Linked DNA regions of Homo sapiens: regions 2, 3, 4, 5, 6 and 7 are each linked to region 1. Evidence: promoter capture Hi-C in 16 types of primary human blood cells and fetal thymus (Javierre and others, 2016). All regions are on one chromosome and are shown on one strand. Each heading gives the region's core, a stretch centred on a gene start or on the middle of the fragment in contact. The rest is flanking DNA. Distances are from core to core; before and after follow the strand shown. Region 1 holds the start of RSBN1L (round spermatid basic protein 1 like). Region 2 overlaps CCDC146 (coiled-coil domain containing 146). Region 3 overlaps CCDC146 (coiled-coil domain containing 146). Region 4 overlaps CCDC146 (coiled-coil domain containing 146). Region 5 holds the start of CCDC146-AS1 (CCDC146 antisense RNA 1). Region 6 overlaps CCDC146 (coiled-coil domain containing 146). Region 7 overlaps GSAP (gamma-secretase activating protein).

Region 1 (3,953 bases), core at 412-2,911:
ATCCAAACAGAATTTTTCATGATCTGAGCTACTGTTAGATCAGCAATGCTGAAACTGCTTGACATTTCTTTTTCTAAAAAACAAAAAGAGTTATTTGACAACACTGTGTAGCAGTGCACATTTATAATAAAGATTATGCGCTTTAAGCTTGCGATCACATAAAGATTTGATTTTCAACTAGTCCGTATGTTGCACTATTGTCAGATCATTGTGTATCCGTAGCTGAAGTGGTGGAAACACCTGAAAAATTATACGACTAGCCTACATTTAAAAACAAAACTGACCCTGTCTGACAAGAACCCTTAAGAATTCGCCTTTTTCTAATGCTCAAACATTCTGCAGCCGCTTGATCTGGCGAAAAATCGTCAAAGCTCCTGGTTTTATCATTTGCTGCAGGGAAAAAAAGAATATGGCTGAAAATTCTTTCAGAAGGGTGGTATTTCAAACAGGACCACCCAAAACACTTAAGAATACGCAGCGGAGAGTAGGGTGCAGGGAGGGTACCTTACGAAACAGCGCACTTCGGGCCCTGCACGCTACCTCATTTCCCTAATAGGGATGAAAAGCTCAGGCCTCTGGTAGCTTCCAGCTGACGCCAGTGCTCTCTCCACACCCCTTTTTTGACAGGATTATCCGGGGTTGAACGCTGTGTCACAAATACGAATTCCCGCGACCACGTCTAAGTGGTCTAACAATCAATCAAGCATCTTTTACAAAACCAAACCCTTCCCCCATCCCGTTCCCTCCATCTCTCTCCCTAGCCAAACAAACCTAGGAGAGTCCTCAAGATGGATTTTCACAAATCCTGCAGCGCACTAACTGGGAGGAAGAAACGATACAGAAAATAAGAGTGTCGGCCATCCCCCTCTCTGCAACCGAAATTACAGGCTCCATTTCCTGTCCCCTTGGGAACTGCAAAATCCTCTGCTGAAAACCGGACGCCTCCCAGCCCCTCCAGGCCGGCGCACGCGGCCGCCGCGCTCCCCCTTCCCGGGCCCCGTGGGCGCCAGGGGGCGGCGGGGACCCACGGCGCCCTCCCCTCCCCCTCCCCGCACGGCACCCACCTCGGGGCAGCGGCTTCACCTCCCCGTTCTCCTCCCGGGAGGCCCCGCCGGCCTCTCGGGCCCCACCGAGACCGTGCCTCCTCCTCTCCTTCTCCCGCTTCTCCTTAGGTCTGCGCGACTTGGCGTTAGCCGAGGCAGCGGCGGCGGCGGCGGGCAGGAGGAGATGGTGAGGCTGAGCGTGCAGCAGCGTAGGAGGGACCAGCAGTTTGCGCGGCACCGGCTGAGACAAGGAAGCGGAGGCTGAGGAGGGAACGGCCGTGCCAGCGGAGAAAGAGAAACTGCTCCGAGAAGAGGACGGGGAGGGAGCAGCAGACAGAGGGGCAAAGCTCCAAGACGCGGGGCTGCCATAGCTCTGAGGCGAAGGTGCTGCCGGCGGCTGCAGCTGCCTGCTGTTCCCGCCGCTGCCCCCTTCTCCGTTCACTCTCCGCGGTGCCTTCTTCTCCTCAGTCCGGACCTTCTTGGCGGACAGAGAACCCGGAGGGTCCCGGGAGGAGAGTTGCAGCTTGCCAAACGGTTCTTTCTCCGAGACGGTGGCGGTGGGGGCCGCGGCAGCGACACAGTGCACGGGGCTCGGCGGTTCCGCCATTTTGCGCTCCTGTTGTATTTACTCTCCTCCGCTAGCCGGCGCGGGGCAGGGGGCGGGCCCTCCGCGAGGGGTAGGGAAGGGGCGGAGCGGCCAGGCCACCAGCCGGCATTGCTCCATTGGGCAAGCCACGCTGAGGGATCCACCTAAGAGCCAATCAAAGGCACAAACATCAGACGAAGGGGCGGGATCGCCACAGGGACCCTCTTCGGAGGTCAGAGCTCGGCGGGGTGCGGCTAGTGGCGGAGCGCGCTGCGAGGGGAGGGCTTTCCACTGTCGCTGGCGTGAACTCGCGTGCCCGGTGGGTATCAGGGAAGAACCCCCGCCCCGGACCCCCAGATCTGCCATGGCCGAGGTAGCGATCGTCTCTGCGGCCACGAAGACTGTTTTAACTTGTACCACTTTCCCTTCCATTTTTCCTGGGGTGCCTCTCACCCTGCATCTGCGCGTTCAGCAAGCTGGATTTCGGGAATGCTCAGTTCAGAAGAGAAAAAATTGCCGGGAATCAAGTCCTTCTTTTTGTTAGTCGGTAGTCGATTGATGGGAAGTGTTCAAAATCATTCGATGTGGTGACAAGGTACGTTATTATTGCTAGATCATGTGCTGTAATCCATTGAAGGAGATAACTTCCAGCAAATCTAGAACTTTAGTATTACTTACAAGCTTGAAGGTGAGAGTCTCCCTTTGGAGACTTTTGAACTGTTGTGACTAGACCCTTAAGATTTTTATTTTATTTATTTATTTATTTATTGGGACGGAGTTTTGCTCTGTTGTCGAGGCTGGAGTGCCGTGGCGCGATCTCGGCTCACCGCAACCTCCGCCTCCCAGATTCAAGCGATTCTCCTGCCTCAGCCTCCCCAGTAACAGGGACTACAGGCGTCCGGCACCATGCTTGGCTAATTTTTGTGTTTATTAGAGACGGGGTTTCACCATGTTGGCCAGGCTGGACTCGAACTCCTGATCTCAGGTGAGCGGCCCACCTCCGCTTCCCAAAGTGCTGGGATTACAGGCGTGAGCCACCATGTGCGGCCTTAAGATTTGAATTTTATAATAATTATTATAGCCGGGCGCGGTGGCTCACACCTGTAATCCCAGCACTTTGGGAGACCGGGGCGGGCGGATCACGAGGTCAGAAGTTCGAGACCAGCCTGACCAACATGGTGAAACCCCGTCTCTACTAAAAATGCAAAAATTAGCTGGGCATGGAAGCGCGCACCTGTAATCCCAGCTACTGGGGAGGCTGGGGCAGGAGAATCGCTTGAACCCAGGAGGCGGAGGTTGCAGTGAGCCGAGACTGCGCCACTGCACTCCAGCTTGGGCGACAGGGCAAGACTCCGTCTCAAAAAATAATAATAATAATAATAATATTATTATTATTATAACGTAGACTTGCCAGGAAAAATTCGTTGGCGATTATTTATGGATGTTTGAAAAGCAAGAATTGTTTTTTTAGGTTTCTGTATTTTAGCGTTTAGTAAGCACACTGCGTGTTCGATGTTTTGTAAGCATGTGCTTTGATTTTTGCTTCGAAAATAAGCAATTTGGGGAGATGGGTTTTAGCTTAAAAGATAAGGAATGTGGCCGGGCGCGGTGGCTCATACCTGTAATCCCAGCACTTTGGGAGGCCAAGGCGGGCAGATCACAATGTCAGGAGTTCGAGACCAGCCTGGCCAACATAGTGAAACCCTGCCTCTACTAAAAATACATAATTAGCTGGGCGTAGTGGCATGCGCCTGTAGTCCCAGCTACTCTGGAGGCTGAGGCAGAAGAATCCCTTGAATCTGTAAGGCAGAGGTTGCAGTAAGCTGAGTTCGTGCCATTGCACTCCACCCGGGGCGACAGTGCCTATTTACTCATTTTTTTAAGAATATTTTTAAGAATTTTTTTTTTTTCGGCCAAGAGTGGTGGGTGGCTCACGCATGTAATCCCAAGACTTTAGGAGGCGGTGATGGGTGGATCACCTGAGGTCAGGAGTTTGAAACCAGCCTGACTGACATGGTGCAACCCCGTCTCTACTAAAAATACAAAAAAAATTAGCCAGGCGTGGTGGTGCGTGCTTGTAGTCCCAGCTCCTCGGGAGGCTAAGACAAAAGACTCGCTTGACCCCTGGAGGTGGAGGTTGCAGTGAGCTGAGATCGTGCCACTGCACTCCAGCCTGGGTGACAGAGTAAGACTCCATCTCAAAAAAAAAAAAAAGAATGTTTTGGAGTCAAATTTAATATTGGTTTATGGACTTATTTTTATGTGCCTCAAATTTTTTAAAGTAATAACAGTATTTAATATGTAACATGAAAACTTTCTAATTG
Region 2 (3,953 bases), core at 770-3,269, 500 kb after region 1:
TTCAAAAGCTGTGTCTCTATTAGGTGGGATACCAAATGTAAATGATGTAACTGACGTTGTTTTTTACTTTTTACTTTTTAAAAAAGACTAAAAACGTTTTGATATTATACAATGTATTTGTTTCAGATAAGGTCATTGTCATTTAGTATATATAATTAATATATGTACAAGTTTAAGTAAATTCCTGTGAGTAAAAATGGACTTATCACAAAACATAGTTCTAAAGAAAGGTATATGCTCATATACACGGTGTCCATTAATTTAATGGGAACTAGGTATAACTTCAGGAGAATTTGGCAAATAATTCATTAATCCATGTAAATATTCAAAAGCTTGTTCTATCCACATTATTTCAAGGGATCACTTTATTTTTCATTATACTTTCACAGCACTTTTCTAGTAAATTCTGTAACACAGAAATTCCATTTTGGAATCATTTCATGTTACCAATAATTCTAGACTTTTATAACATTTAACATGTTGATGGAAATAGATTACATCTGCTAGAACCTTTTGCCTTAACTATTCACCAATATATGCTAATATTCATAAATATGGATTGACTGTTTACAAACATTAGAATCTTGTCTTGGTTCCATTTTGATGGCTAATATTTGTTATCTTAATTAAGACTATTTCTGAGGTCATGATTACTTGAAAATATTGACTAAAACTGGGTCCTTAGAAATTCCAGGTGGAGCTGATTTACCTATGACTGAGGGGAAAAAAAAATCAAATTTTACTGATAATAGTAATGCTCCAAATGAATTAATGACACATCTGTTCAATAAATAAAGAGCTTAAATATACAAAACATAAGAAATCTGGGCAACAAAACTTGTGGTCTTTACTTTTGAATAGCTACCCAAGAAAAGGTTTTAAAGGTAAAAGTTATGAGTAATGTCATCACAATAAGCTCTTGTTTAAAATTCTTTTCTTTTATGTATAATTAGGTTTATGTTTCATGTCTTTTTAAAACCTTATAAAAGATTTAATTATCACATCTATTCTTCAATGTGGAAATATTAAATATTGTTGGTTGTAAAATAATATTTATGTACTTACTTGTGTCTGAAAAGTTGTAAAATGCTTACCTCAGCTATACAATATCTGTGACTCTGAAGACTTTAATGAGTACTATTTCATTAACAAGAAGTCAGAGGCAAATAGAGGAACACCATTATCTTACTTCCCTCTAGAATACTGTTGAAACATTTGAAATACAAAAGTTTCAGTTTCATTTTGTGGCATTCAACTTCCTCTCCTCTTTTTCCGTTATTAGTGTTGCTGCTCTGGTTAGCCCTCTTCATCTCCTTAGGACAACACAAACGCATCTGAATAGTCTGTACCTCTGGTTTCAGTCTATTCCAGTCCAACTTTCATCCCTACCAGGGGGATTGTTCAAAAGTACAATTCTGATCATGTTATTGTCCTGCTTAAAAAACTTTCAACAACGCCTTCTTTTCTTTTTTTTTATTATTTTATTTTATTTTTTTTAGAGACGGAGTCTCACTCTGTCGCCCAGGCTGGAGTGCAATGGCGAGATCTCGGCTCACTGCAACCTCTGCCTCCTGGGTTCACGCCATTCTCCTCTCTCAGCCTCCTGAGTAGCTGGGACTACAGACGCCTGCCACCTCGCCCAGCTAATTTTTGTATTTTTAGTAGAGACGGGGTTTCACCATGTTAGCCAGGATGGTCTCGATCTCCTGACCTCGTGATCCACCCGCCTAGGCCTCGCAAAGTGCTGGGATTACAGGCATTAGCCACCGTGCCCGGCCAACAATGCCTTATTTTCTACAAGATAAAATCTGGCAAATAAGTCCCTTCATGAAATGATTTTTACCACTACTTATACTTCTGCCATACTAAACGCCTTGTTGTACACAAACAAACTACGCTTTCTAATGTTTTCATTGCCTTTAGTATACTGTTTCCTTGGTCTAGATAGAATGCCATCCTCTTTCCTCACTGGGTTTTGTCTTATCACCCATGATTAACAGCAGGAACTCAGGAGCTGGCCTTCCTGGTTTGAATTTCAGCTCCACTATTTGCAAGCTGTATGATCCTGGGCAAGTCACTTAATGTTCTTTGGTTCCTTCAATTATAAAATAGGAATAGTAATAGAATCTGCCTGATAGAGTTATTGAGAGGATTAAATCACATATATAAAGCACCTAGAACATATATATTTAAAAATCATCATTCCCAGCTGGGTGTTGGTGGCACATGCCTGTAATCCCAGCACTTTGGGAGGCCGAGGTGGGCGGATCACGTGAGACCAGCCTGGCCAACATGGTGAAACCCCATCTCTACTAAAAATACAAAAATTAGCCAGGTGTGGTGGCTCACACCTGTAGTCCCAGCTACTCAGGAAGCTGAGGCAGGAGAATTGCTTGAACCTGGCAGACAGAGGTTGCAGTGAGCAGAGATGGCGCCACTGCACTCCAGCCTGGGTGACAGAGAAAAAAAATCATCATCATCCTAAGTAGTTATTATTATTTTTTATTTTTTGAGATGGAGTCTTGCTCTGTCGCCCAGGCTGGAGTGCAGTAGCACCATCTCGGCTCACTGCACGCTCCGCCTCCTGGGTTCACACCATTCTCCTGCCTCAGCCTCCCAAGTAGCTAGGACTACAGGTGCCCGCCACCACACCCAGCTAATTTGTTTTGTATTTTTAGTAGAGACTGGGTTTCACCGTGTTAGCCAGGATGGTCTCGATCTCCTGACCTCGTGATCCGCCCACCTTGGCCTCCCAAAGTGCTGGGATTACAGGCGTGAGCCACTGCGCCAGGCCCTAAATAGTTATCTCTTATAGGCAGAGTTCTCTGATGACAGTAGGTGGGGTCCTGGCACCTCTCCTAGATCTTATGCCATCCTACATATTCCTTATTATATATTATTCAATATTGTCTAAGTTCTATCCTGAAATCAATCTGTGTGAATAGGAGTAAAGGAAATTTGAGACATGAGTATTGTTATTCAAAGTGATTAATAATATGTTGCCACAGAGAAAGAGTTGTACTCTAAAGAGGCCACAGTTATGATTGGGAAAGTAGTGGGTAGGGTCAAATCTGCGGATATGAGAGACTGTGAACATAGGTGAGAAGCAATTACAGCCAGGGAGAATATGGCAAGACAGGATCAAATACAGTAAGTCCTCACTTAACGCTGTTGATAGGTTCTCAGAAACAGCGACGTTAAAACAACATACCATGTAACAAAACCAATTTTACCATAAGCTAATTGACATAAACAAGAATGAAGTTCCTATGGCATACAATATGCTGTTTTTGCTTAAAGTTGCTGTTTCCAAGAACCTATCCATGATGTTAAGTGAGGACTTACTGTATACTATAGGACTGGGAATGTAACAGTGGCAAACTTTTAGAAGGGGTCCTAGGAACATGCCTGTGGGGACATGTCACACAGAGGCATATTGCTGTACCTGCCCAATAGTGATTGTTCCACCCTACTGAATTCCTGAAGAAAAAAGCAGGAATAATTTTGAAATTAATTTTAATATAAAATCCATGAATCCTTTAATTTTTTAAAAAGTTACAGATTAAAATAAAGACTCCTTCACAAATCACCTTCAATTTCAATCCTGTCCCTCTCCCCAGAGGTAACAAGCCGAGGTGGCCAATTCCCAACTTTAATTTCATTCTGTGCATTGCCAGATCACAATGTCTACTAAGTCATAAGCTTGCCAGGTCTCCTTTGTTGATTGACTGGAAAGAGGTGGAAATGAGAGGAAATGGGTATACTTTGAAAACATGGAGTGTCCCGAATTCCCAAACATGAGTGGGCCCCCCCTTGCTTTTTGAAGTAGTCCCTCCCCTGACATTGATGAGGATGTCCTCTTGCTGGAGGGCACTGTTGCTTTCTTTCCTGGGGGAACACTCCAAATTCTTCCTTAGGCTCCTTCATCCCACTCATCAGCATCTCCAGATTCA
Region 3 (3,953 bases), core at 1-2,500, 480 kb after region 1:
TGTAGGCTAGAATCTGCTAATGACACTTACAGGCTTAGCCAATAACCATGAATAATTTACTCTTTTCTTTTTTGTTTATTTATTTATTATTTGTTTATTTATTTGAGACATATCACTGTGAATGGGATTTTTTTCTTCAATTTTTTTTTTTTTTTTTTTTTGAGACGGAGTCTTGCTCTGTCACCCAGGCTGGAGTGCAGTGGCGTGATCTCGGCTCACTGCATGCTCCGCCTCCTGGGTTCATGCCATTCTCTTGCCTCAGCCTCTGAAGTAGCTGGGACTACAGGTGCACGCCACCACACTCGGCTGTTTTTTTGTATTTTTAGTAGAGACAGGGTTTCACCATGTTAGCCGGGATGGTCTCGATCTCCTGACCTCGTGATCCGCCCACCTCGGCCTCCTAAAGTGCTGGGATTACAGGCATGAGCCACCATGCCCAGCCTTCAATATGTTTTTGAACTTGTTATTCTTATTAAATAGGAAAGCTTATTCTTATTATAATAGGAAAGCTATATATTTTTCTTCAATATGTATTGAACTTATTATTAAATAGGAAACCTATGTATTTGTATATTTATTTTGAAAATAGTCACCTTACTGTACTATAATATTATTTTGTATTTTTTATGTAGGCATTTATGTCAGCTACAGATAATGGTCATTTGTTCTTTCCCATATGTATGCATCATTTTCTGTCTAAGTGCATTGCATATAATTCATTTTTTGAAAGTGAATTATATGCAATGATCATGCTCATATCAGGCACCCTTTCCTTATTTCTGATTTTAATGGGAACACTCCTGGAGTTTCACAATTAAGCATGACATTGGCTATTTGTTTGAAGTTAGTGTTTAAAAGAGTAAATAGGCTGGATGCGGCAGCTTACACCTGTAATCTCAGCACTTTGAGAGGCTGGGGTGGGCCGATCACTTGAGGTCAGGAGTTCAAGACCAGACTGGCCAACATGGTGAAACCCCATCTCTACTAAAGATAAAAAAATTAGCCAGGCATGGAAAAGCACGCCTGTAATCCCAGCTACTCAGGAGGCTGAGGCAGGAGAATCATTTGAATCCAGGAGGTGGAGGTTACAGTGAGCTGAGATCACGCCACTGCACTCCAGCCTGGGTGACAGAGTGAGACTCTGTCTCAAAATAAATAAATAAATAAATAAAAATAAAAAAAATAAAATAGAAGCAGCACAAACCCTGTAACAAAGCAATTCCATTTCTTGGTGAATAACCCTTCAAGGTGCATGTACAAGTATATGGAGAGACATGTACAAGAATGCTCAAGTAGCATTATATCTAATAGTTGAAAACTGGAAACAATCCTAATGTCAATTGGAAATACAACAGATAGAGGACTAAACATACAATAGAAAAATACATGCAATAATATCAATGGTTCTTACAAATATAACATTGAGTTAAATAATCCAGACACAAAAAATACATTTTGTATGATTCTATTTACATCAAGTTTAAAAAACAGGCACAGCAAAAGGAAGGTGTTTAGAGATTCATGCTTAGGTGGTAAAACTATGAAGAACCACAAGAAAAAAATGATAATAAAAGTTAGGATAGTCGCTATGTTAGAGGGGGTGAAGGGGGATAAGAGGAATTACTGAGAGCTAATGTTTTATTTTTTGACCTGGGTGGTGGTTACTTGGGTATTTGGTCTGAATTATACATTTATAGATACCCTAATGTATATCTAATATACTTCACAATTTTAAAAGATTAAAAACTATTACAAGATTGATATAGTTTGGCATTGTGTCCCTGACCAAATCTCATGCTGAATTGTAATCCCCACTGTTGGGAGAGGGACCTGGTGGGAGCTGGTTGCATTAGGGGTCAGATATCCCCCTTGCTGTTCTCATGATAGTGAGTTCTCATGAGATCTGGTTGTTTGGAAGTGTGTAGCACCTCCCCTTTCACACTCTCTCCCTCCTGCCCCAGCCATATAGGACATGCTGGCTTCCCCTTTGCCTTCTGTCATAATTGTAAGCTTCCTGAGGCCTCCCTACCCATGTTTCCTGTACAGCCTGTGGAACTATGAGCCAATTAAATCTCTTTTCTTTATAAATTACCCAGTCTCAGGTAGTTCTTCATAGCAATGTGAGAATGGACTAATACAGAAAATTGGTACCAGAGAAGTGGGGCATTTCTATAAAGTTAAGTAAAAATGTGGAAGCAGCTTTGGAACTGGGTAATGGGCAGAGGTTGGAACAGTTTGGAGGGTTTAGAAGAAGATAGGAAGATGAGGAAAAGTTTGGAACTTCCTATAGACTTGTTGAATGGTTGTGATCAAAATGCTGATAGTGATATGGACAGTGAAATCCAGGCTGCAGAGATCTCAGATAGAGATGAAGAACTTATTGGGAACTGAAATAAAGGTCACTCTTGCTATGGTTTAGCAAAGAGACTGGTGGCATTGTGCCCCTGCTCTAGGGATCTGTGGAATTTTGAACTTGAGAGAGATGATTTAGGGTATCTGGTGGAAGAAACTTCTAAGCAGCAAAACATGTAAGATGTTCCCTGGCTGCTTCTAACAGCATACACTCATATGTGTACACAAAGAGATTATCTGAAATTGGAACTTATATTTAAAAGGGAAGAAGAGCATAAAGGTTTAGAAAATTTGCAGGCTGACTATGTGGTAGAAAAGAAAAATCCAGTTTGTGGGGAGAAATTAAAGCCAGCTGTGAGAATTTGCATAAGAGGAGCTGAATGTTAACAGTCAGGACAATGAAGAAAATGTCTCCAAGGGCATTTTACAGATCTTCACGGCAGCCCCTCTCATCACAGGCCTGGAGGCCTAGGAGGGAAAAATGGTTTTGTGGGCCAGGCCTAGGGCCCCACTGCTCTGTGCAGCCTTGAGACATGGCACCCTGTGTCCCAGCTGCTCCAGCTCCAGCCATGGCTAAAAGGGGTCAAGGTACAGAATGGGCTGTTGTTTCAGAGGGTACAAGCCCCAAGCCTTGATGGCTTCCATGTGGTGTTGAGCCTGTGGGTGTGCAGAGGGCAAGAGTTGAGGTTTTGGAGCCTCTGCCTAGCTTTCAAGGGATGTACGGAAATGCCCGGATGTCCAGGCAGAAGTCTGATGCCAGGGTGGAGCCCTCATGGAGAACCTCTACTATGGCAGTTCAGGGCAAAAATGTAGGGTTGGAACCTCCACACAGAGTCCCCACTGGAGCACTGCCTAGTGGAGCTGTGAGAAGAGGGCCATCGTCCTCCAGGCCCCAGAATGATAGATCCACCAACAGCTTGCACCGTGCACCTGGAAACGCCACAGGCAATCAATGCCAGCCCATGAAAGCAGGTGCAGGGGCTGTACTCTGCAGAGCCACAGGGGTGGAGCTGCCCAAGGCCTTGAGAGCCCACCCCTGTGTCAGCGTAGCTTGGATGTGAGACATGAAGTCAAAGGAGATTCTTTTGGAGCTTTAAAATGTAATGACTGCCCTGCTGGGTTTTGGATTTGCATGGGGCCTGTACCTACTTTGTTTTGGCTGATTTCTGCTTCTTGGAATGGGTGTATTTACTCAACGCCTGTGCTCCCATGTATCTTGGAAGTAACTAGCTTGTTCTTTATTTCACAGGCTCATAGGTGGAAGGAACTTGCCTTGTCTCAGATGGGTCTTTGAATTTGGACTTTTGAGTTAATGTTGGAATGAGTTAAGGACTTTGGGGAACTGTTGGGATGGCAGAATTGTGTTTTGAAATGTGAGAAAGACATGAGATTTGGGAGGGGCCGGAGGTGAAATGATGTGGTTTGGCTTTGTGTCCCTGCCCAGATATCATGCCTGTAATCCCAGCACTTTGGGAGGTAAGGCAGGAGGATTCCTTCAGCCCAAGAGTTCTAGACTAGCCTGGGCAACATAATGAGACCCCATCTCTTAAAAAGATTAGCTGGGCATGGTAGCATATGCCTGCAGTGCCAGCTACTTGGGA
Region 4 (3,953 bases), core at 860-3,359, 470 kb after region 1:
ATTAAATTGAAGATATATGCTCATATAAAAGCTTGGACACAAATATGGCAGCGTCATTCATAATAGTAAAAAAAAAGAGAAACAACCTACAAGTCCATCAATTGACAAATGGACAAACAAAAAATATATATCCATAGGATGGAATATTCAGCCATAAAAAGGAATGGAGTCTTGATACCTGCTGTAACATGGATGAACTTTGAAATCTATACACTAAGTGAAAGAGGCAAGACACCAAAGGCCACATATTATGTTATTCATTTATATGAAATATCCAGAGTGGGCAGATCTTTGGAGACAGAAAGTTGATTTAGTGGTTTCCTACACATAAGACAACTAGTGTGAGGGGAATGACTTTTAATGGGCACAAGGTTTCTTTGGTGTCACGGAAATATTCTACAATTATGCCATGATTATACAACTCTGTATATATACTAAAAGCCATTAAAAACACTTTAAAAGAGTGATTTTTATGGTAAACTCAAGAAAACTTTAATGTCAATTACATTAGAAATCAATTTTCTGTGTAAAAGAGATACAATTGTAAAATCAAATTAGTGAAAACACTACAAAGTTAAAATTGAATTGCAAATACAAGTATGAACTAACTCATGCTTAAAATTTTTTTCCCTAGCTTTGTCCATTAAATAGCCTAGACCGCACACCTACAACTATCTGATCTTTGACAAACCTGACAAAAACAAGCAATGGGGAAAAGACTCCCTATTCAGTAAATGGTGCTGGAGTAACCGGATAGCCATATGCAGAAGATTGAAACTGGACCCTTTCCTTACACCGTACATAAAAATTAACTCAAGATGGATTAAAGACTTAAATGTAAAACCTAAAATTATAATAACCCTGGAAGACAGCCTAGGCAATACCATTCAGGACATAGACACAGGCAAAGATTTACTGATGAGGACACCAAAAGCAACTGCAACAAAAACAAAAATTGGCAAACGGGATCTAATTAAACTAAAGAGTTTCTGCACAGCAAAAGAAACTATCAACAGATTAAATGACCTACAGGATGGGAAAAATTTTTGCAAACTATGCATCCGACAAAGGTCTAATATCCAGCATCTATAAGGAATGTAAATTTACAAGAAAAAGCCAAATAACCCTACTAAAAAGTGAGCAAAGGAAATGAACACTTTTCAAAAGAAGACATACATGTGGCCAATGCCAACAATTTTATGGAAAAAAGCTCAACATCACTGACCATTAGAGAAATGCAAATCAAAACCACAATGAGACACCATCTCACACCAGTCAGAATGGCTACTGTTAGTTGGGGGAGGGAGAGCATTAGGAAAAATAGCTAATGCATGCTGGGCTTAATACCTAGGTGATGGGCTGATTGACAGGTGCAGCAAACCACCATGGCACACATTTACCTATGTAATAAACCTGCACATCCTGCATATGTACCCCAGAACTAAAGATAACAATTTTTAAAAAGTCAAAAAATAACAGATGTTGCTGAGGTTGTGGAGAAAAAGGAATGCTTATACACTGTTGGTGGGAGTGTAAGTATTTCAGCCATTGTAGAAGACAGTGGTGATTCCTCAAAGATCTAAAGACAGAAATACCATTTGATCCAGCAATCCCATTAATGGGTATATACCCAAAGGAATATAAATTATTCTATTATAAAGACACATCCATGTGTATGTTCATTGCAGCACTATTCACAATAGCAAAGACATGGAATCAACCTAAATGTCCATCAGTGATAGACTGGATGAAGAAAATGGGGTACACATACACCATGGAACACTATGCAGCCATAAAAAAGAATGAGATCATGTCCTTTGCAGGGTCATGGATGGAGCTGGAGGCCATTATCCTTAGCAAACTAACACAGGGGCAGAGAACCAAATACCACATGTTCTCACTTATAAGTGGGAGCTAAATGATGAAAACACATGGACACATAGAGGGAAACAACACACACTGGGGCCTGTCAGAGGGTGGAAGGGAGGAGAAGGGAGAGGATCAGGAAAAACTACTAATAGGTACTAGGCTTAATACCTGGGTGATGAAATAATCTGTACAACAAACCTCCATGATACAAGTTTACCTACGTAACAAACCTGCACTTGTATCACTAAACTTAAAGGTTAAAAAATATATAATGGTCTAGAAATAATGCCACATTAACAACAATGAGCACTCCTAATACATTTTGGTCTTTAATCTTATTTCCCACTAAAAGGAAGCAGCAAGTGTTAGAAATGGTTGATTTCAGGTCTGGTACAGGGAAGACACAAAGTGAAGCTGAGACATCTTGTTAAGCCAGAAAGCAAGAACTGTCCGTAGAAGATGATCTTATTTTACATATGAGTATGTGAATATATAGAGATCCAGAAGGATAAGAACTAAGATGTTAAAATGATGTGCTCTGGGTAGTAAGAATGTGCTGCTTTTATGTTTTTATTTTTGCTTGCCTGTGTTTTCTAATTTTTCCAATATGTATTACTTTTAATAACAAAAGGCTATTAAAAATGTGCTTGCAGACTATCACTGTAAACAAGAGGGAATTAGAGCAGAATTTAGAGAGAATTAGAATTTAGAGAGTACTGTGATCAGGTCCTAGTGGCAGATATAGGCAGATTCTAGCTCTGACTTACTGAATGCTCAACTGTATTTCCCCTAAGTTGAGTCCCATCTTTAACAGCAATGGTGGCCAGGCGCCGTGGCTCACGCCTGTAATGCCAGCACTTTGGGAGGCTGAGGCAGGCGGATCACGAGGTCAGGAGATCGAGACCATGCTGGCTAACACGGTGAAACCCCGTCTCTATTAAAAATACAAAAAATTAGCCGGGCGTGGTGGCAGGCACCTGTAGTCCCAGCTACTCGGGAGGCTGAGGCAGGAGAATGGCATGAACCCAGGAAGTGGAGCTTGCAGTGAGCCGAGATTGCACCACTGCACTCCAGCCTAGGCGACAGAGCAAGACTCCGTCTCAGAAAACAAACAAAAAAACAGCAATGGTTTGAAGCCTAATTGTAGGTGGGCCAAGGATACATGTTGGCTAGTTTTATGGCCACAGAAAAGCAGGAAAACTACAGAGGTTTCCTTTCCTGTTTTCTGTCTCTATCATTCTGCTGGCCTTTGGTGCCTTACAAACCTGCAAAGAAAGCTGACAGGGTAAAACACCTGAATATGTTCTTGCAGTTTCTACATAAATTGGAAAAGGTAAAGTCATAGATGTTCAGAATGTTAGTTGATAAACTTTGTTATTTCAGTCTCCTCTAAAAAAACAAATCTCTCTTAAAAAAACTAAACTGTGGAGAATAGATTTTAGCTGCCTTAAACATAAAAAATCATAATCTAGACGTCAACATTCATCAAAAAGTGACTTTTCTGTGAAATTATAAACTGTCTCTTTAAGCAGGTCGATCCCTGGTTAGAAACTTCACACTAAGTTCTAGCAGATAAAAATGCTTCACTCATAAACAATATCATACATGGAAAATGGTTGCATTTTCACATTGCATGATACAAGTGGGTGCAGAACTCAAGTTTGTCATGTTTCAAAAATGCAGAATCTAAGAAATATAGCACAAAGTTCAATCTTAAATTGTCAAAGAGCATACACAATGAAAGGTTAGATATAATGTCATAAGTTCATAAATATGATTTCACAATAGATTCTGTGTTATTGAATTGCCCTGCTGGCAATTATGTGACTGGAAGGAAACATTTACTCTAGAGATAAAGTTTAAAAAGAGTTCATGATTCATGGATGACATGTAACAATATGGAAAAAATTTCAAAAATGGAAATTCTAGGACATTTCAAGGAAGTAATAGCTCAGTAAGAGCTTTCACCAAGTGAGTTTATCTGGAAGGGGGTCAGCATGAGGAAAGAATTAGGTGTTTGCGTGGGTGTGTGCAGGGAACCTGGATTTGTCCAAGGTGGTCACAGCTATTTGCCTACCCTGTTC
Region 5 (3,953 bases), core at 969-3,468, 450 kb after region 1:
CAGTTAAGGACATAGTCAAACTCAATAATCCCATCAATCAATTGGATATACTTGGCATCTATAGAAAGAAATGTCAGTTTTTCTAAAAGCCAGTCATCATTGTAAATTGAGATTAACAAACAAAAGAAATAAAAACATTAGAAAGTACAGACAGTGAATGGGAACATATGGTTTTGTTCACTTATTCATGAGAAAATACAAAAAAAGTTTATATTTTTATTTTAACTAATAAGATGAGAGGACACGATGCTAGAATGACATTTTGGAAATTGCTTCAAATAGCTTGAATGTTCTAAACAAAATGAGTTCGATATAATTGCGTGTTTCTTCCAATAACCGTATTTTGAACTGTTTTATTGACCAGATTTCCTGAAGAAATCTAGAGAAATATTTTTCATTTTTCTTGCTATTCTTTATTTAATGACTAACTATTAAGTGCCAAAGAAGTCATATGATTTCCCGATATGGAAAGATTTTAAAGTTTGTATTGATCACACTTGGAAAATCATATGAAATAAATGAATACACAGACAATTATGTCCACTGGTTATAACAAATAACCAGATCCCACTAGTCCATAGATCTAGGAACATGAGCTAAAAGCACATGCACACCAGGTTTTCTCATTTGTATACATTTAAGGGATACAAGTGCAGTTTTGTTACATGGATATATTGCAGTGTGGTGACGTCAGGGCTTTTGGTACAACCATCACTCAAATTATATACATGTATACCCATTAAGTCATTTCTCATCCTTCACCCTCCTTCTGTCCTCCCACCCTTCTAAGTCTCCAGTATCTACTAGTCCACACTCTACGTCCACGTGTACACATTACTTAGCTCCCACTTATGAGAACATGTGGTATTTGGCTTTCTGTTTGTGAGTTTTTTTCACTTAAGATAACGGCCTTCAGTTCCATCCATATTACTGCAAAATACATGATTTCATTTTATGACTGAATAGTATTCCATTGTATATATATGTCACATTTTCTTTATCCAATCTCTTGACAGACACTTAGGTTGATGCCTTATCTTTGCTATTGTGAATAGTGTTGCAATAAACATATGAGCGCAGGTATCTTTTGGATATGATTTCTTTTTCTTGGGTATATAGCCAATAGTAGGATTGCCAGATGGATTAGTAGTTCTATTTTTAGTTCTTTGAGAAATATCCATGCTGTTTTCCATAGAGCTTGTACCAATCACATTCCTAGCAACAATGTATAAGTGTTCCCTTTACTCAGCACTCCGCCAACATCTTATTTTTTATCTTTTTAATAATAGCTATTCTGACTGGTATAAAATGATATATCATTGTGGTTTTAATTTGCATTTCTCTGATTAGTGATGAACTTTTTTCATTTGATTCTTAGCCATTTGTCTGCTTTTGAAAAATGTCTATTTATGTCCTTTGCCTACTTTTTAATGGGATTATGTTATTTTTGACATTTTATTTGCAATAATGTAGATGAATTTTGTAATACATGTGTCACATTGAATTTAATATAGATTAGTTGTCTAGACCACAAATTGAAGCTGAGTTTAGATCTTTAAATAGTTATGCCTTTGCTTTTAGAGCTTGCATATACATTAGTGGTATTTTACTTCCCAGGTATTGATCCTACACCTCGGGCATGCTGCCACCAGGGGGTAGTAGTGTGCTACTATCTTTCGGTTGTAAAGGCAACCTGAGTATTTCTGAGTTTCAAAATGGTGACAGCAAGCTCTTTCACAAGATGTGACTTATGGTCTTTCCTTTAAGTATATTTTTATGTTTAAACAAACATAAAATGACTAATTCTTTAGGACATTTAAAACTTACATTTCTATGATACATTTTTCTTTTTTTATTAGGAAATACTGACTTATTTCCTCTAAAAGGAATGTATTTTTCTATTTTTAAAGATTATAATCCTACTCCATCACACATGGTTGATCATTTTTATTTTCCCTGTTATCTTTTAATAAACTTATTTTAAATGTATATGTGTGGTTGAATCCATTTTTACCTAACATTTAATTAAAATATTTTCCTAAGTTGCTAAACAGACTTTATAATAATAGCTATTTACAAGGTTTTCTACTGGGTAGATATACCATAATAAAATAATCTTAAGTATTATTTATCATATACTGAACATACTGTGTGCCAGGTGCTTTAAATTTATCATATCTAAAATTCACAACCTTGCTAAGTAGGAATTGTGATTTTTGTTGTACAAATGAAGAAACTGAGGAGTTAAGCAACTTTTCCAAAGTCACACAGTCAAAGCTAAACTGACACACAAATACCGCTCTGACTACAGAGGTTCAGTAACAAGGTATTTCTGGAATGCATTATTTAAATATTCCACATTTTTTGAGAATTCAGATTGCTTCCAATTTTTCACTTTCATAAATATCAATATCTTTATGCATTATATCTTTTTCTCTCCTTTTGGGTTATCACTTTTGCATGGGATTACTGGGGCAAAAACATGTTTCTGTTTCTATGCCTCCTGGTATGTATTAACTCCTAACCTTTCAAACTTGCATTAAAACTTAAATCTGACATTTTTCAGCTTTCCTGACTAAGGGGTGCTTCAACATCAAAGCTCCTTAGGATTTACTTCCTTTCTAAAGCAACGTCAAAAGGCTTTTGGTTTTAAGGATCTATGGGTGAAGAGATAATGCAGGAAGCCCGATATGCTGACATGTGTGAGAGGCATCATTCACCACAGAAGTAGAAACAGCATGGATGGGTGAAAGTTGCAAGAAGGTAGGTTTATAAACAAATCCAACAACCATTTAAGTGTAGGAGCATTTCCAAAGTTGGCGTGAGCCTCTGTGGGAGGCTGAGAGCTTCCTGTCACTGGAAGTGTTTATGCATAGACTGAATGATCACTGAGAGGAGACTCTGGTGACTGACCAGTCAGGGCTGAGAACCACCTTTGGAACCCACGGTCCTCTAACTATAATGTGAGTCAGAGTCACATAAGCAAATGTCACTTTGGGTGGGGGCGGTGGGCTGGGGCAAAAATCATAATCATTACTTTTTGGATGGGATCTTCCTTTCAAACAAGTGTCTCAGGTGCTTCTTTTTGAGTAATGAGAAACACATTCAGAGAAACCTGTTCTAACTAAGTTAGTTCTTTTAAGATATTTGTTGCCACAGAAGAGCAAACTTTTTTTTTTTTTTAAGTTAAGGTAAAATCTGTTCTAGCTATGAGTTTTTCCTTGTGACTACTCCTGAGTACCTACATGCCTCTTCTGTCACATTCTAATTTTCTGGAATTCCAGATGTGTTGCTAAGATCATTCCTCCTTTCCTTTGTTACCAGATCTGTTGTTTCTTGGTTCCAACTTTGCTATCAGCACTGGACCAAGAATGGAAAACAACTAATAAACCCTGAATGTGCAACAAGGACCACAGGAACCAGCCACGGGAGAGTAGACAGTCACCAAGGTCAGGGTCACGTCAGGACAGCCCTGCACGTGTGCGGCCTGAGTGTTCCCACTCTCCGGGTTCACAGTGCAACAGACAGTGCCAGCTCACCACAGCCTTGTTTCCCCCAACTGACCAAGACTGGTCAGAATGTGTCAGATTTTGCATGAAAGACGCAACGTATTTGCTGTAAAATTTTAGGAATTACTAGAAAACAGGGAAGCCCCAAAAGGTAACACAATCAAGGCAAGGCAAAGGTTGAAGAGAGTACTGAAAAATCTTTTCAAACTGTTTAGAGAGGTAAGTACTCCTGTTTTGTTTCAAAAAGTAAGCTCAACTGTATTTAATTACTTTATTATGGATTTACAATGTATTAATTTAACTTTAAATAGATTACATATTATTTCCTGAACTGCATACTTATCAAGTCATAAATATTAATCCAGAAACAGAAACTACTGCAACATAGATTTAATTACTAACCAACCAACCAACCAGATAATTAGATTTATTAACATTAAAAGA
Region 6 (3,953 bases), core at 450-2,949, 400 kb after region 1:
ACTGGAGGATGTTATGTTCATTGAAATAAGCCAGGTACAGAAAGTTAAACACCACATGTTCTCACTCATGTGTGGAAGCTAAAAATTGTTCTCACTCATGTGGAAGCTAAAAGTAGAACAGCGGATATAAGAGGCTGGGAAGGTTAAGGGAAAGGATGAGGAAAGGAAGGAATGGGGTAGATTTGTTAATAGACACAAAATTACAGTGAAATAGGTGGAATAAGTCCTATGTCCTATACCACTGTAGGATGACTATAGGTAACAATATACAGTTTCAAATAGCTAGGAGGATATTGAATATTCCCAACACAATGAAATGATAAAGTTTGAATGTATATGCTAATTACCCTGATCTGATCACTATACATTATATGTATTGAAACTTCAGTATGTACCCCATGAGTAGGTACAATTATTATTTGTCAAAAAAATAAAATGAAAAAAATGCAAAAAGCCATGACAAGCTTCACTACTTTATGTAATTTAGATTTACCAAGATTAAGTGCTACTTCTTATTCAACAAAGTGAGTTATGCCTTTGCAATACTTGAGGTATTTTCCTTTTCAAATAGCCATTCTTTCTTTTTAAAGTGTGTATATTGAACAGTATTTGTTTTTTCTTTAATAAACAAAGACCACTGTGTCCATTTCCGTACTTCATTGAGAACAGATTTATTTTTAGTGCATTTTTATAGCACCTTGCCTACTACAAATTTCTGGAATGTACTCAATATAAAGAGTGAAAAAGAAAATATAAGCGATTCAAATATATACTTTGACATAAATGTAGGACAGTTCTATGTCCCATTCAACGTCATGAAAGGTATAGTAGTTGGTGGGTAAATAGAAACCCTGTTGTACTCTGTTGCTGACTAATTGTGGTTACCTTACTTATCAATAATATTAGAAGTATTATGCTCACATTTTTCACCTGTGGGTACAAGGAAGCCTGGTTGAAGTCTTTTCCTTGAGAGGCCTGGATTTGTTCACATATTCAGATTTCAACTGGCTTTATAACAGGTTTCCTTATGTGCCTCATATTGGCTCCAGGTTCACTGGGTTTAAAAGGAGCCAAAGCACCATAAGGTTTTGGCAAAGGAAGAGTGGCATCTGCTTCTGGGATGTAGGCATTCGGACGCTGCTCTGCAGTTGTGTAAACACCATTGGGCAGCTGGCGATTATCTGCTTCCAAGAACTCCTGCAAAGAATGATTTTTCCTTTTCAGTTCTCTGAAAACTCTGGTGAAGTCACTTTATCCTTAGGTCCCAAAAGACACAGCTGGTCTGGACAGTCTTTGACCGTGCTAGCTGATACTCCCCAAAGGGATGGGAGGGGTAGGAGGGTAGAATCACACCACACACACACACACACACACACACACACACACACACACACACCTACCTCTCATTGGCATGGGCTGTATTGCTTCAGCATCACATTATTCCTGGGGTTTAGGGTAGGAGGGTGGAATCACACCACACACACACACCCCCACACCTCATTGGAATGGGCTGTATTGCTTAAGCATCACATTAATCCTGGAGTTTAGTGTTTTTCAAAGACTGCTTTGTGGGTCTTAACTATGTTTCCACCTCAATATCTGTCATCAAGCACTAATTATTTCCCTGTTTTTGACAAAGGCAGAGCAACATATTTCCTTTGGTAAGTCATTGGTGAGCAAAAGTTACAATGGAAGAGGTAGAGGAGTAAAGTGGAACCAGAGGAGGAAAATGGTCACCAGCTTTGCCCTGAGCCTCAACGTTTTCAAGATTTTGTCTGTGCCTCTGGAAAATAGAGTAATCACTTACTGCACTGAAAAGCCCTCTAATAAATGGCAGTGGGACACCACAGGTAAAATCTGAATGCCCTGAAAGGAACAGTCCCAGGTGGTGTGGAAATTATAAATCACGTAATTTACACTTGTGCTCAGGTATTCCTAGTGTGTTCTGAATGCAGTTTTGTCTTGAGTTCAGGAGCAAATAGGGACCCTTTCGGTGATACCCACTTGGCAATCTGAGTGAGTTGTACATCTGGAGGATGTAGACTCCTTGGAAAGAGATGCCTAATTCCAGTCTAAGAATACTGACAGGTCATGGGGGTAGACAGAAGATCTGCTATCTAACTTGCAGGGGGAGTCAGCAATAGACCTAGTCTTAGGCCAGAGGCCTAAGGTGGGAAAAGAAAGGGGTGGCGCTGGGGCCTATGATGTACATCAAGCATCTGCAGAAGGCATGGCACCTAAAATGTGGGTGGAGGCCTCACTGTATGCTGTGGAGGCCACAGGAGATGAACATGGAACAGTCAGATGTGGTCTGAGCAGAGGTGCCAAGACAGAGATTGGAGACTTATGGACAAGGCCAGTGCCAGCCTGGTCATTGCTATGCTGGTGGAAGGCCATGATGTTCAGCCTCAGCAGCCCAGGATGTAAGGCTATGGGGTGGGCCCTGTGCTTGCTAAGTGTTCTTCAGTGAGTATTGTAGCACTCTGGATTACTGCACTTTGACTTATCATAGAATATCTTAAATACACTTCTAACGACTGTTGGGACTGTGTGTGGTAGAGTGGGGAAATTTTTCTTATACTGTGGGATAACTGTGGGTTGCCTGAATGCAACCCCTGCTGGCACCCTTTAGAAATGCAATACAGGAGCCAAAGCCTACCTGAGACTTTTCAGCGATGGCCAAGGCGTGCATTTCTTCATCTCGAAGGACTTTCAACCATTCTTTCTCAATTTCCTTATTGAGTGGCAGACCTTTTTCTATCCTGGAATTGCAAGTGAAGATGAAGTCTTCTTTCTCCCTGACTTCCTTTTGGAGTTCAATGGTTAGGGCTTGTTTCATGGACAGCTCAGCAACAAGAGCCATCATTTTCTCAGTTGCATTTTTGATCCTTCTTTGATAGCCATTCATCTAGAATTAAAGAGCCCAAAGCTTAGTCTATGTATACAGTCCACAAAGACTTAAAATGGCAGGCTGCTGGCTGTCTATAATGGCGGGGTGCATTTTTGTCTGAAGGAAGGAGGGTCTAACTTGGAATTCACAGAAATTAAGAACTGGAAGAGACTGCAGATATTGAGCCGAACACCCTGGCTGTGTAAGTAAGGACAAGGAGAGAACAAGAAAAGGATTTGTTTATCTAGTTACTGGATTTCAAGGTGAATAACATTGAGGAGAACAGTTTAGTGCCCATTTTTAAGAGGTAAGAAGGAGAGGTGAAGGGATGTTCTTTTTTTTTTTTTTTTTTTGAGACTGAGTCTCGCTCTGTCGCCCTGGCTGGAGTGCAGTAGCGCAATCTCAGCTCATTGCAAGCTCCGCCTCCCAGGTTCACGCCATTCTCCTGCCTCAGCCTCCCGAGTAGCTGGGACTACAAGTGCCCAACACCATACCCGGCTAATTTTTTTTGTATTTTTATTAGCGCTGGGGTTTCACCGTGTTAGCCAGGATGGTCTTGATCTCCTGACCTCGTGATCCGCCTGCCTCAGCCTCCCTAAGTGCTGGGATTACAGGCGTGAGCCACCGCGCCTGGCCAGGGATGTTCTTTAAAAAAAAAAAAAAAAAAATTAAAATAAAGACAAGGTCTTGTTCTGTTGCTCACACTGGTATATAGTAGTGTGATCATAGCTTACTGCAGCCTGGAACTCCGGGGCTCAAGCAATTCTCCTGCCTCAGCCTCCTAAGTAGATAGGACTATAGCCATGCACCACCATAGTTGGCTAATTTATTATTTTTGTAGCGATGGGGACTTGCTGTGTTGACAAGGCTAGTTTTGAACTCCTGGGCTCAAGCAGTCTTCCTGCCTCGGCCTCCCAAAGTGCTGGGATTACAGGCATGATCCACTGTGCCCAGCCAAGAGTGTTCTTGATGCCTAAATTCTAGTTTAATTTGACGTTATTAGTTTGTCACTTATCCAGGGGAAAAAATCTGGTAGAATTAACGTTACTCTTTGCTTATATAA
Region 7 (3,953 bases), core at 751-3,250, 380 kb after region 1:
CCCTTGTCCAAGTGTTCTCATTGTTCAATTCCCACCTATGAGTGAGAATGTGTGGTGTTTGGTTTTCTGTCCTTGGGATAGTTTGCTGAGAATGATGGTTTCAAGCTTCATCCATGTCCCTGCAAAGGACATGAACTCATCCTCTTTTATGGCTGCATAGTATTCCATGCTCTCTCCTTTTCTCTTGAATGTTTATTTCCATCATGTGACATGGAAATAGAGGGGGGAGGTGACACTGGATCATGTGTGTGTGTGCATGTGCATGCTTGTATGAATTCAGGGTGTTTCTATATGCACATGCGTAAGTGTGCTTGCTTTCCAGGCCTATTGGACTAATGATGACTGTTTGAGTTACGATTGTCAGAGACTTGTAACATGAATTGGTTAAAGTTAAGAAGAGAATGGGGAACACAAAAAGGAAGTCAGGGTTTAGAGCTAGGGCATTTGCTTTTAAAAAAAGGAACTGTATTGCACTTGCTGGCTAGAGGAGGCCAGGAGCCCTGGAAGATGAGGATTAAAGTTGGGTGGAGCTGATGACTAATTATAGCCAATTTGCTCTGTTGCTCAGAGCTGATGTATAGAGGCCAAGAACAGGTCCCTGAACTTGGGACTGTGCCCTGGGGATAGAGGATGAAGGGTCATCAGGGACCTTTAGCATATGAACACAGGGCTGGAGAGGGAAATTTGAATCCAGAAAATCAATATCATCAATAATCTAGTGTAAACTTTTCTTCAGAAATAATTTTGTAACTTTTTACTAATAGTTTTGTGAAGAATTTCCAAATCCATTTGAAAAACGTTGTTGTTAATTAACTAGTAAAATAGTGGAGTTTTTTTGGACTCAGGGAAGCTAGTGGACTCATCCTGTTAGCCCATTAACACATGCTTGTGGGCAGAGCCTGTACTTCATCTGACCCTTGATGTTACAAGGACTTAGGACTGTGCCCCATGGCTTGTGATTCATGTGTTTAGAGAGAGAAAATCCCATGATTTCTCTGAATCCAAGCCCTGCTCGTTGGGCATCATCCTTTTGTCAGGTACCTTCCCAAGAGTAGGCTATGATTCTTCTGTCAGTCATTCCCACATTCAATGAGTTGCAAAGCCTGTACATGTTACCATGCCTCTCTGATTCAGTGCCTCCATTACCTCTTATCCACGTTCAGGCAATAGCTTCTCTACAGGTCTTCATACCTTCTGTAGCAAATTATTACTCCAACTCATTCTTTGCCTGTTGCCATATTAATATCCCAATGGTAAATCTTCTGTTCTGCTTAAAAACTTTCATTACCTCCTCAAAGTCTCTCAAATTAATAAATCTCTATCATTCAGCATTCAACCTCTGTCACCTGCACTCATAAGCACAGAACTGGTCACATTTTTAAAAATGTCTATTTTTTGTAATTGATTGTCTGCCTCCCCCAGCAGACTGCAAGGTGTATGGGAGCAGCAGTTGTGCCTGTTTTGCTCATTTTTATACTCTTAGCCCCTTGCCAGGTGTGTGGAAGGGATGTGCTGAATAAATTAGCTTTTCCAACCTTACCTCTTAATCTTTCTCTCCTCTAATATGATTCCAACCCAGCTGGATCATTTACTATTTTCTGAATATGCCCTGTGCTTTCTCATCTTCGGACCTCTGTTCATGTTCTATTAACACAGCTGCCAGTTATTAACAGTGACATTATGGTTGAAAGCCTACCCTACAATCACACAGTTGATGCAAATTTCAACTTACACATTATTATTTCTGTGATCCTGGGCAAGTTGCCTAGCTCCTGTGAATCTTGGCTTTTGGTTTTTCCATTTATGAAATGGGAATCTAGTAATTCCCACCCCATACTTTTGTATGAGGATCAGATGAGCCAGGACACAGGTTGAAAGCCTTGGTACATGTCCAGTATGGGTCGCTATTGTTATATTGCATGCTAGGCTCTTCACAGACCTGGCTCTAGTTCTCAAAGCAGCCCTGTGGGAAAGGTACTGGTGGTTCCAATTTAGAGATGAAGAAATGGAGGCTCAGAAAGGCTTAGTTGCCTGCAGCTGGTGAGTAATACAGCTGGATTCTGGCCTAGGGCTGCTCATGCCAAACCTGGCTTTTTCTACTGTCCGCACTCATTTCCACTGATAGGAATTGCATCTGTCCTTTGAAGCTCCCCGCAAATGCCATCACTTCCAAGAGAGCTGTTTTGATTCTCTCCTGGTCTGATACCTTCTCCCATGCATGATGTTTTTATCTGTTGTCAGTAGTAGTATACTTAGAGATCTGGGTTTCTGTGGGTAGCTCTACCCGTGAGACAGGCTTGAGAATGCCTGCCTCTCAATTGAATTCCTATAAATTTACTATCTGGCCATATTGTCTTAATTCTTTCTTTTCTATACTTTAGTCCAAGTAGACTCTAAAAGCCTTTCTCTAGGGCATACCCAGAGATAAGCCATATAAACTATTGCCTTCTGGTCCAAATTTGTTTCCCTTCAGCAAAATGGTCCTCATCCCAACAACCTTTTAGTCTGGACATACGAAATCTGAAATGCTTCTGTACTCTTTTGCTATCTTACTGTAGAATCACAAACATATCAAACCGTAAAACCATTGAGCAGGCCCTTGCTCTGTTTCTGTGCAGGAAGAGACCCAAGGAGCAAGGAATGTATACTTACCGGAAACTTACTATAGACCCAGCGTGATATTTAGTTACGAATAATACAGAGAAGGAAACTTGGACCTTGTTTTCAAGAAATTCAGTTGGTTCCAGGCACCAAGCACTGAACTAAGTGCTTTATTAACATGATCTAATCCATTCCCCGGGGGCTGCTGGAGATGTTGGCTGACTGTGTTTACCCTCCAGATCTCTCATCCTAGGTTTTCATACTCTGCACACCATCCTCGGGGTCCAGTGTCTCCCTTTGCATAACCTGCTGCATTGCATTGACAGTGGAGTGTTGCTTCTCACTGAAACAGCTGTCATAAGGCTCATGAAAGGTAAGAAGCCCTGAGTTTGCCAGAGTGCTAGTTCCAGCCTGAGCACCACCAAGGCTAGCTTCTTGGGTGTGCAACCTGTGCAGTCACCAAGAGCCTGGCTGCACTCAGAAGAGTGCCCTGCTCAGTTTAATGCTGCATTACATCTTGAAATTCTTAGTAGTATTTGAACGAGGGCTTGCTCGTGTTCATTTTGTGCTGAGCCCCACAAATTATACAGCTGGTCCTGTGAGCACAATCCATTCCCTGTAATCATCTTTTGGGCCAATTTAAGGTTTCTGAGCCCTTCACGAGGTCCTAAGGGACTTTTCAATCCACATACAACTATTAGATTCCTTTTCTGTGCAAGAGGGCACTTGAGGCTAGGAACCTCTGCAGGCTTGTTTCTCAAGAAAATGTCACGAAATGGCTTATTTTCAGCTGATTAACTCTGTCATCTCAAAGTTAGACTAGAAATGCAAGGAAAATTATTGAGAGGGGCAATTAAATGAATTTGAACTTTAAATTCTGTAGTATAATCACTCAAATTATTCAATTGTATTTTAAGATGATTTTTGTTTATATGAAAGCATTTGTCATTCCTCAAGGTACCTTCTGTTTTAAGTTAGTCAATAAAATTGCTTTGTACCTGGCAGCCTGTTATAGAAAAATCCCTTTTTATTCAGAGAGTCAGAGTAAAATTTCCAAAATGCTGTTAGATTAGCTTGAGAATACACAGTTGGGATATGTCCTATCAAGATGAACCACTCAAGTATTAATATTAACTTGCTAAAGTATCAAAATGGGTATTTGTTTCATTTGCTAATCTCTAACTTTCTTGTAGATCTGGATAATACAGAGAAAAATGAAAAACTGAAATTCAGTATCATTGTGCGGCTTCCTCCGGTAATACTGAGTTACATTTTATTTTCTCCCTAAGCTTTGGCATTACCCTCCTTCAATTTCTTCTTGCAAAAAGAGCATTTACTTGCTTTGGGTTAAA

The links. The method cuts DNA at HindIII sites, captures the fragments that hold promoters and counts their contacts. A CHiCAGO score of 5 or more calls a contact.
Region 2: a fragment that was not itself captured here is called in contact with the fragment with the promoter of RSBN1L in region 1 in 10 of 17 cell types (monocytes, non-activated CD4 T cells, neutrophils and 7 more); the score reaches 12.6 in monocytes.
Region 3: a contact is called between a fragment that was not itself captured here and the fragment with the promoter of RSBN1L in region 1, in 1 of 17 cell types (neutrophils). The highest score is 6.3, in neutrophils.
Region 4: a contact is called between a fragment that was not itself captured here and the fragment with the promoter of RSBN1L in region 1, in 2 of 17 cell types (monocytes and neutrophils). The highest score is 7.5, in monocytes.
Region 5: a fragment that was not itself captured here is called in contact with the fragment with the promoter of RSBN1L in region 1 in 5 of 17 cell types (neutrophils, non-activated CD4 T cells, activated CD4 T cells and 2 more); the score reaches 7.3 in neutrophils.
Region 6: a contact is called between a fragment that was not itself captured here and the fragment with the promoter of RSBN1L in region 1, in 2 of 17 cell types (non-activated CD4 T cells and monocytes). The highest score is 6.3, in non-activated CD4 T cells.
Region 7: a fragment that was not itself captured here is called in contact with the fragment with the promoter of RSBN1L in region 1 in 2 of 17 cell types (monocytes and total B cells); the score reaches 6.5 in monocytes.

What each region holds. Positions count from the first base shown.
Region 1 is chr7:77,694,167-77,698,119 of GRCh38, reverse strand. RSBN1L (round spermatid basic protein 1 like) reads right to left here and starts at 1,661. Exons shown (of 8, transcript NM_198467.3): 1 at 1,065-1,661. The coding sequence starts at 1,650. It overlaps APTR (Alu-mediated CDKN1A/p21 transcriptional regulator), which reads left to right and starts at 1,855. Exons shown (of 2, transcript NR_134254.1): 1 at 1,855-2,224. RefSeq lists silencers at 441-540, 831-1,150, 1,621-1,840 and enhancers at 1,361-1,590, 775-1,670, 1,671-2,566. The HindIII fragment of the contact is 2,163 bases long and covers 150-2,312 here.
Region 2 is chr7:77,190,468-77,194,420 of GRCh38, reverse strand. All of the region lies in intron 2 of CCDC146 (coiled-coil domain containing 146), which reads right to left. FGL2 (fibrinogen like 2) reads left to right here. Exons shown (of 2, transcript NM_006682.3): 2 at 1-1,052. Among named protein-coding and RNA genes, the nearest start is that of FGL2, 7.4 kb to the left of the region's middle. The HindIII fragment of the contact is 3,370 bases long and covers 335-3,704 here.
Region 3 is chr7:77,208,829-77,212,781 of GRCh38, reverse strand. The region is part of intron 2 of CCDC146 (coiled-coil domain containing 146); the gene reads right to left. Among named protein-coding and RNA genes, the nearest start is that of FGL2, 11 kb to the right of the region's middle. The HindIII fragment of the contact is 1,525 bases long and covers 488-2,012 here.
Region 4 is chr7:77,226,342-77,230,294 of GRCh38, reverse strand. The region is part of intron 2 of CCDC146 (coiled-coil domain containing 146); the gene reads right to left. All of the region lies in intron 1 of CCDC146-AS1 (CCDC146 antisense RNA 1), which reads left to right. Among named protein-coding and RNA genes, the nearest start is that of CCDC146-AS1, 20 kb to the left of the region's middle. The HindIII fragment of the contact is 4,152 bases long and covers 34-3,953 here.
Region 5 is chr7:77,245,101-77,249,053 of GRCh38, reverse strand. The region is part of intron 4 of CCDC146 (coiled-coil domain containing 146); the gene reads right to left. CCDC146-AS1 (CCDC146 antisense RNA 1) reads left to right here and starts at 346. Exons shown (of 2, transcript XR_007060387.1): 1 at 346-3,728. RefSeq lists a silencer at 1,699-1,748. The HindIII fragment of the contact is 6,811 bases long and covers 1-3,953 here.
Region 6 is chr7:77,291,907-77,295,859 of GRCh38, reverse strand. CCDC146 (coiled-coil domain containing 146) reads right to left here. Exons shown (of 19, transcript NM_020879.3): 18 at 2,660-2,908; 19 at 656-1,197. The coding sequence ends at 994. Among named protein-coding and RNA genes, the nearest start is that of CCDC146-AS1, 45 kb to the right of the region's middle. The HindIII fragment of the contact is 2,465 bases long and covers 467-2,931 here.
Region 7 is chr7:77,313,391-77,317,343 of GRCh38, reverse strand. It overlaps GSAP (gamma-secretase activating protein), which reads left to right. Exons shown (of 31, transcript NM_017439.4): 27 at 2,855-2,974; 28 at 3,795-3,856. Among named protein-coding and RNA genes, the nearest start is that of CCDC146-AS1, 67 kb to the right of the region's middle. RefSeq lists an enhancer at 751-1,252. The HindIII fragment of the contact is 3,785 bases long and covers 108-3,892 here.